2 separate regions of the Homo sapiens genome follow, and region 2 is linked to region 1. The links are contacts of gene promoters, found by promoter capture Hi-C in human tissues and cell types (Jung and others, 2019). All regions are on one chromosome and are shown on one strand. The core of a region is centred on a gene start or on the middle of the fragment in contact, and the rest is flanking DNA. Distances in the headings are between cores, read along the strand shown. Region 1 holds the start of AMER2 (APC membrane recruitment protein 2). Region 2 overlaps ATP8A2 (ATPase phospholipid transporting 8A2).

Region 1 (3,145 bases), core at 204-2,703:
CTCACAGTGAGGGCACCTTCCGCAGGCTGAAGACAGCTTTGTCTCTTTCTCTTTGTTTGAGTGTTGATGTCCCAAAAGAATGATATCCATCCCAAAGTCCTCTATCAGATTTCTCCCAGGAGGCCCAAAGATTCTCATGTAAATTAGAGTCACATTTGACCTGTCCTGATGGGTGAATAAGCAGACCACTTTCTCCCAGTGGAGAAAGGGAGATTTTTTAATAGGCGACTTACTTTTCCTTGATCCCAGTCACAAACTCTTCCAAACTGACAGAGCTACATAGTAACCCACAAATCTAAGCAACTGTATGGGTGTGTGTGTGTTTGTGTGTGTGTGTGTGTATGTGTGTAAAATTGAGAGACTTTCTATTGTTCTTCAAAAGGTTGTAAAGACGTAACAAATGGGTTTCTCTTTACAGTTCCTTACACGTGGTCTCCCCAGAAAGCACTGAGGACTCTGATTCATCATGTCAAGCGGTCAATTAGAATCCGGGAAAGCCTCTCTCTGGCCTCACCTTACTTCCTGTACCAGGAGAGATGCTCATCAATAGTGAGAAAGAGTTGATGGGATTAGAGTCTGGAAGTGACAACCTCTCCTGAACCTGAACTCATTGATTTCTTCGTTTTACAAAACAGTGTTCTTGAAAAAAATAAACAAAAAAAGGAAATAATACAACTAAGAACTCCAAGGTCTAAATTTTAACCAGCTGTATCTCATAACAACAGAAGCTGCAATGGCCAACATACGTCATTTATAAAACGCCAACTTATGTGGATGGGGATTGGGATTTATTGGCCTAATGCAAAGAGCATATAAAAAATGAGTAGGGAAAAGACTACTGTTTGTGTATATATGTAATTATTACATATATTCTTAAATGATATTTAATAAATAATCAAATGATTAAATAATATATACTATATATACATGTTATATTTATATATGTATATGCTTCTCCAAATTTCTTTTTGCTAAAAAGCACTCAGCTGGGATTATGAAATCAGATGTCAAGATTAGAATATTAGCAGTCACTTTTTAAATCAGAACACAGAACAGATCCCTAGACTGAGCTGTTCCCAGAAAAAAGGTTTTCCCTCTCCCCAGACCAGGCAGGTAGGAATGTCTGCAGAGATCCCTGGACACACAGGGACCCCTGCCAAGCTTTTCCTGCTCTGTACATTGGGGAAGGGGACTACAAGTCAGCCCTGGTGGTATGGGGGAGGGGAGTGGTACCGCAGTGACAGGAATAATGCCACTGTCCTGCTGAGTGGGAAAGGAGAGGGCAGAACCCGGACTCGAAGGCCCACCTGTGGAGTGGGTCTGAGATTCCCAGCCTGTGTGTCTCGGTCAGCTTGTCTATTGTTATCAGATGTGGGCTGTGCCGCAGCATCTGTGACTTCATCCCGTGGTGGCTGGAGTCTGGGATAAAAGTCATGGTTGTCCCAAAGGTGCAGGCAAACTCCACCCCGGGGAGCTGTTGTGCTTGCATTGCTGGGCTGCTGATAGACTGATTGAGTGGTGGCGTGTACTTTTGTCACAAGAACCATAACCACAATGACAGCCACACAGCATGGACCTAGCGTGTGCTCAGCTCTGGACAAGACATGGATGTAGGCAGACATGCTTCCTGCCTGCTGGGCTTAGTGCACCAATGCTAAGGACAGACATGAAGGGCTTGGGAAAGGCATGAAGATGCAGGGAGTCTAGGAGAGAGGATAAGAAAAACAAGCATTTTGTGGTGGGTTGAATTGCGTTGTCGTTTTTAGAGGCATTTCGTGATCCATGGTTGCGCTCCCGTGAAGAGCGAGTCTAGAGAAGGAATCCGAAGGTGGGTGAGAGTTGAGGGAATTTGAATTCCATAATTACGACTCGAATTTCTGCAATCAGCTCGCGGCTGTGTTGCCTGCTCCTGCCACAAAAACGCCATGCAGCGCCGAGCCAAGTCGGATGGAAGTGGGTTAGGGTATTATATAAGCCCTTGCGGGAGGGAAGATGGTCTTTTATGTGTGTTTCTTTTGCAGCGGCGGCGGCGAGCGCGGCTCAGGTTGATTTAGAATACGGGTGACAGTGGCCTGGCGCGAGCCCACTGCTGACGAAAGCGGCTTATCCCGCGCGGTTTCCATGGAGACGAGCCGGAGCCGCGGCGGCGGCGGGGCTGTCAGCGAGCGCGGCGGAGCTGGCGCGTCCGTGGGGGTCTGCAGGAGGAAGGCGGAGGCCGGGGCCGGGACCGGGACCCTCGCGGCAGACATGGACTTGCATTGTGACTGTGCCGCCGAAACGCCGGCCGCCGAGCCGCCGTCGGGGAAGATTAATAAAGCTGCCTTCAAATTATTCAAGAAGAGGAAATCGGGTGGCACCATGCCCAGCATTTTTGGGGTCAAAAACAAAGGGGACGGGAAAAGCTCGGGTCCGACGGGGCTGGTGAGGAGCAGGACCCACGACGGACTTGCCGAGGTGCTGGTGCTGGAGAGCGGCAGGAAGGAGGAGCCGCGCGGCGGGGGCGACAGCGGCGGGGGCGGCGGGGGGCGGCCGAACCCGGGGCCCCCCAGAGCCGCAGGGCCCGGCGGGGGCTCCCTCGCCAGCAGCTCGGTGGCCAAGTCGCACAGCTTCTTCTCGCTGCTGAAGAAGAACGGGCGCTCGGAAAACGGCAAGGGAGAGCCTGTGGACGCGAGCAAGGCCGGCGGCAAACAAAAGCGGGGGCTGCGGGGGCTGTTCAGCGGCATGCGCTGGCACAGGAAAGACAAGCGGGCCAAGGCGGAGGCCGCGGAGGGGCGCGCGCCCGGGGGCGGCTTGATCCTACCCGGCTCGCTCACCGCCAGCCTGGAGTGCGTCAAGGAGGAGACGCCCAGAGCCGCGCGCGAGCCGGAGGAGCCCAGCCAGGACGCCCCGCGAGACCCAGCAGGTGAGCCCGCAGGGGGAGAGGAGGTGCCCGCCCCCGCCGACCGCGCCCCAGCGCGGAGCTGCCGAGAGGCAGAGGGCCTCGCGCACCCCGGCGACACCGGCGCCCGGGGAGAGGACGCCGCGGGGCATCGGCGCGCCGAGCCGGGGCCCGGGGAGGTCCGCACGGCAGAGGACGCTTCCAGGACGGGGGCCGTTCCCGTAAAGACGGTCCCCCTTGTCGACTCCGAAGGCGGCAGCGGCCGGG
Region 2 (3,377 bases), core at 349-2,848, 310 kb before region 1:
AATGTGTAACTCTTGGGCAGAGTAATACGCAAGTCCACTTCCCTTTTCCCCGAGTTACAGCTTATAATTGATTGTTTTGGTTATCAAAGAATTAGAGAGCAAAATGAGTGGCAAAGAAGAACAACATTCGTAATAACCAGATAACTGGTGTCAATGAGCAACTCTGTGTGAGTCTGTGAGCTCTTACACAGTGCAGCCTTAAACAGGTACATTCTCATCTAATTATTTTTTTCTTGTAGACATAGGATCTCACTATGTTGCCCAGGCTGGTGTCAAACTCCTAGCCTCAAACAATCTTCCTGCCTTGGCCTCCCAAAGTGCTGGGATTACAGGCATGAGCCACTGTGCCCAGATGTTCTCATTTAATTCTCATCATGCTGTAAGCTATGACATTATTCTACTTCCAGTTTATTAATTGGAGTATCTTGAAACCAAACAGATCTAGAGGTAGGGAAAGATCTGTCAAAAGTTTGGTGTCTCTCCAAGAGCGCCAGTGCTGCCCCTACCTTGCTGGAGGAAGGAGCTCCTTCATGACGCAACCAACAGAGATCACCCCCTACATGTGTATCTCTGCTCCCCTGGGGTGGTCTCATACTGGGGTGAAAGGGGCTTTCTGCTATTCTGAGGTCAATCACCTTGCCCCATTCCACAGTTCAAAATAGTTCAAAACAAAACTCAGAAACACAAGAAACAGCATCAACACCTTCTCCGTCACTAACACTGGAACCTGGAAATCACACTTGCCTAGTGCTCTGTCCACTTACAGCCCCACTGCTAACCATCCCAAGTGCTTCTCTTCTCCTGCAGCAGTATAGCCCTGCACCTCTTCCTGGGCAATGACAGCAGCCTCATATGCTTATTCTAAATGCAGAGCAGGTGGCTGTGCACATCAAACCCAAGTACTATCTATCACTTTGTCACCTGGCTCATAAAAGCTTTTCTTGGCTATAGCAGCCCGTCTCCAGTAGCCTGGCCTTTCACAGCACTTTGTCCATCATCCCTTCTGTATTAGTCCGTTTTCACGCTGCTGATGAAGACATGCCCCAGACTGGGCAATTTACAAAAGAAAGAGGTTTAATTGGAATTACAGTTCCACATGGCTGGGGAAGCCTCACAATCATGGTGGAAGGCAAGGAGGAGCAAGTCCCGTCTTACATGGACGGCAGCAGGCAAAGAGAGAATGAGGAAGATGCAAAAGTGGAAACCCCTGATAAAACCATCAGCTCTCATAAGATTTATTCACTACCACGAGAATAGTATGGGGGAAACCGCCCCCATGATTCAATCATTTCCCACCAGGTCCCTCCCACAACATATGGGAATTATGGGAGCTACAATTCAAGATGAGATTTGGGTAGGGACCCAGAGCCAAACCACATCACCTTCTTCTTCCACATCTTTTCTGGAAAGACATACACCTGGCCGTTACACTCTTCTGCACCTCTGCACATGGGGTTCCCCATGTCTGGCCTGCCCTCCCCACCAAGCCCCACCCAAGTTTCCAGGCTGACTCGTACTCATCTTTCAGGCCCAGCTCATTGGTCTCTACTAGCAGTTTTGCCCCGTCCTTCTACTTTCCCACCCCTGCAGTGCTGCCACTAACCACGCACCCCCAATTCTTGACAGAGAGGGACTGCAATGCTTACCTCACATATACCAAATGTAGGATTATGAATGGTACTTAAGGAACAAGACTTATGATCAGTCTCAGAGTTCCTGGGGCCTAAAGTAAAAGTCAGACTGGGTCTGACCAGATGGTTTTCCTCTAAGGCGGGCCCTAATCAACTGAATCTAAAGCAGGTGGCTTCCAAGTGGGGTTTGGGAAGATGCTATCAGAGCTTATATTTATATATACCTCCAAAAAATAAGCTTCAGGAACATTTATTAAATGCACTGACACTGGTGTCCCAACGTAATTCTATGTAATGTGGCTGGAGAGGAACCTCTTTAATGGGAAGGGTGGGTGGTGCTATGGACTGAACTGTGTCCTTCCTAAAATTCATATGTTGAAGCCCTAACCCCCAATGTGATGGGATGCTACTGTTGGGCCCTTTTGGAGATAATTAGGATTAGATGAGGTCATGAGGGTGGGACCCTCAAGATGGGATTAGTGCCCTTATTAGAGACAGAGAGCTCTCACTCTGTCTCTCCTTCACTCTCGCTCTTGCTCTTGCTCACTCTCTCTGTTCTGGGAGGACATGGCAAGAAAGCAGCTATCTGCAAGCCAGGAGAGAGCCCGCACCAGAACCAGATCATGCTGGCACCCTGATCTTGGACTTCCAGCCTCTAGAACTATGAGAAGACGAACACCTGCTTACGCCCCCGCAGTCTATGTATTTTGCTATGGCAGCCTGAGCTAATACAGGGATAACAGTGGTACCCTCCCTGTCTGTCTCTCTCCTTACTACTACACATTTCAATTTCCAGGTCCCAGCTAGGTGGAGTCATCCATCACTTTATCCAATTTAAACTAAATTAACCCTCCCAAAAGAACAAATGGTTTAAGAATCATACAGGCATCCACATTCCTGGCTCAGGATGGAGGAGGAATGAAGGATGCATGGGCGTTGAGTCTCAGGAGGGCTCCTAGAACTGCCATGTGACTCTTCTGAGAGACCACTGGCCTGAAGTTGGCCACACAGTCGCTAGTTACAAGAGAAACTGGGAAATGCAGTCTGCATGTCCCATCAGAAAATGTGGGCAAAAACAATATTGGGAAGTAACTATGAAGACCAGTACTCCTGTCCCTGTCCCTGTCCCTGTCCCTGTTCCTCTCCCTGTCCCTCTCCCTCTCCCTCTCCCCACGGTCTCCCTCTCCCTCTCTTTCCACGGTCTCCCTCTGATGCCGAGCCGAAGCTGGACTGTACTGCTGCCATCTCGGCTCACTGAAACCTCCCTGCCTGATTCTCCTGCCTCAGCCTGCCTAGTGCCTGTGATTGCAGGCGCGCGCTGCCACGCCTGACTGGTTTTCATATTTTTTTGGTGGAGACGGGGTTTCGCTGTGTTGCCCGGGCTGGTCTCCAGCTCCTAACCGCGAGTGATCCACCAGCCTCGGCCTCCGGAGGTGCCAGGATTGCAGACGGTGTCTGGTTCACTCAGTGCTCAATGGTGCCCAGGCTGGAGTGCAGTGGCGTGATCTCGGCTCGCTACAACCTCCACCTCCCAGCCACCTGCCTTGGCCTCCCAAAGTGCCCAGAGTGCAGCCTCTGCCCGGCCGCCACCCCGTCTAGGAAGTGAGGAGCGTCTCTGCCTGGCCACCCATCGTCTGGGATGTGAGGAGCCCCTCTGCCTGGCTGCCCAGTCTGGAAAGTGAGGAGCATCTCTGCCCGGCCGCCATCCCATCTAGGAAGTGAGGAGCGCCTCTTCCCGGCCGCCAT

The links. The method cuts DNA at HindIII sites, captures the fragments that hold promoters and counts their contacts. A contact is called where the count stands out against the background at its distance.
Region 2: a fragment that was not itself captured here is called in contact with the fragment with the promoter of AMER2 in region 1 in 1 of the 25 tissues and cell types used here (dorsolateral prefrontal cortex).

The regions. Positions count from the first base shown.
Region 1 is chr13:25,170,596-25,173,740 of GRCh38, reverse strand. AMER2 (APC membrane recruitment protein 2) reads left to right here and starts at 1,453. Exons shown (of 1, transcript NM_152704.4): 1 at 1,453-3,145. The coding sequence starts at 2,122. LINC00463 (long intergenic non-protein coding RNA 463) reads left to right here. Exons shown (of 4, transcript NR_120428.1): 4 at 419-917. RefSeq lists an enhancer at 1-594 and a silencer at 2,874-2,963. The HindIII fragment of the contact is 4,196 bases long and covers 165-3,145 here.
Region 2 is chr13:25,480,596-25,483,972 of GRCh38, reverse strand. The region is part of intron 2 of ATP8A2 (ATPase phospholipid transporting 8A2); the gene reads right to left. Among named protein-coding and RNA genes, the nearest start is that of ATP8A2, 110 kb to the right of the region's middle. The HindIII fragment of the contact is 4,258 bases long and covers 1-3,377 here.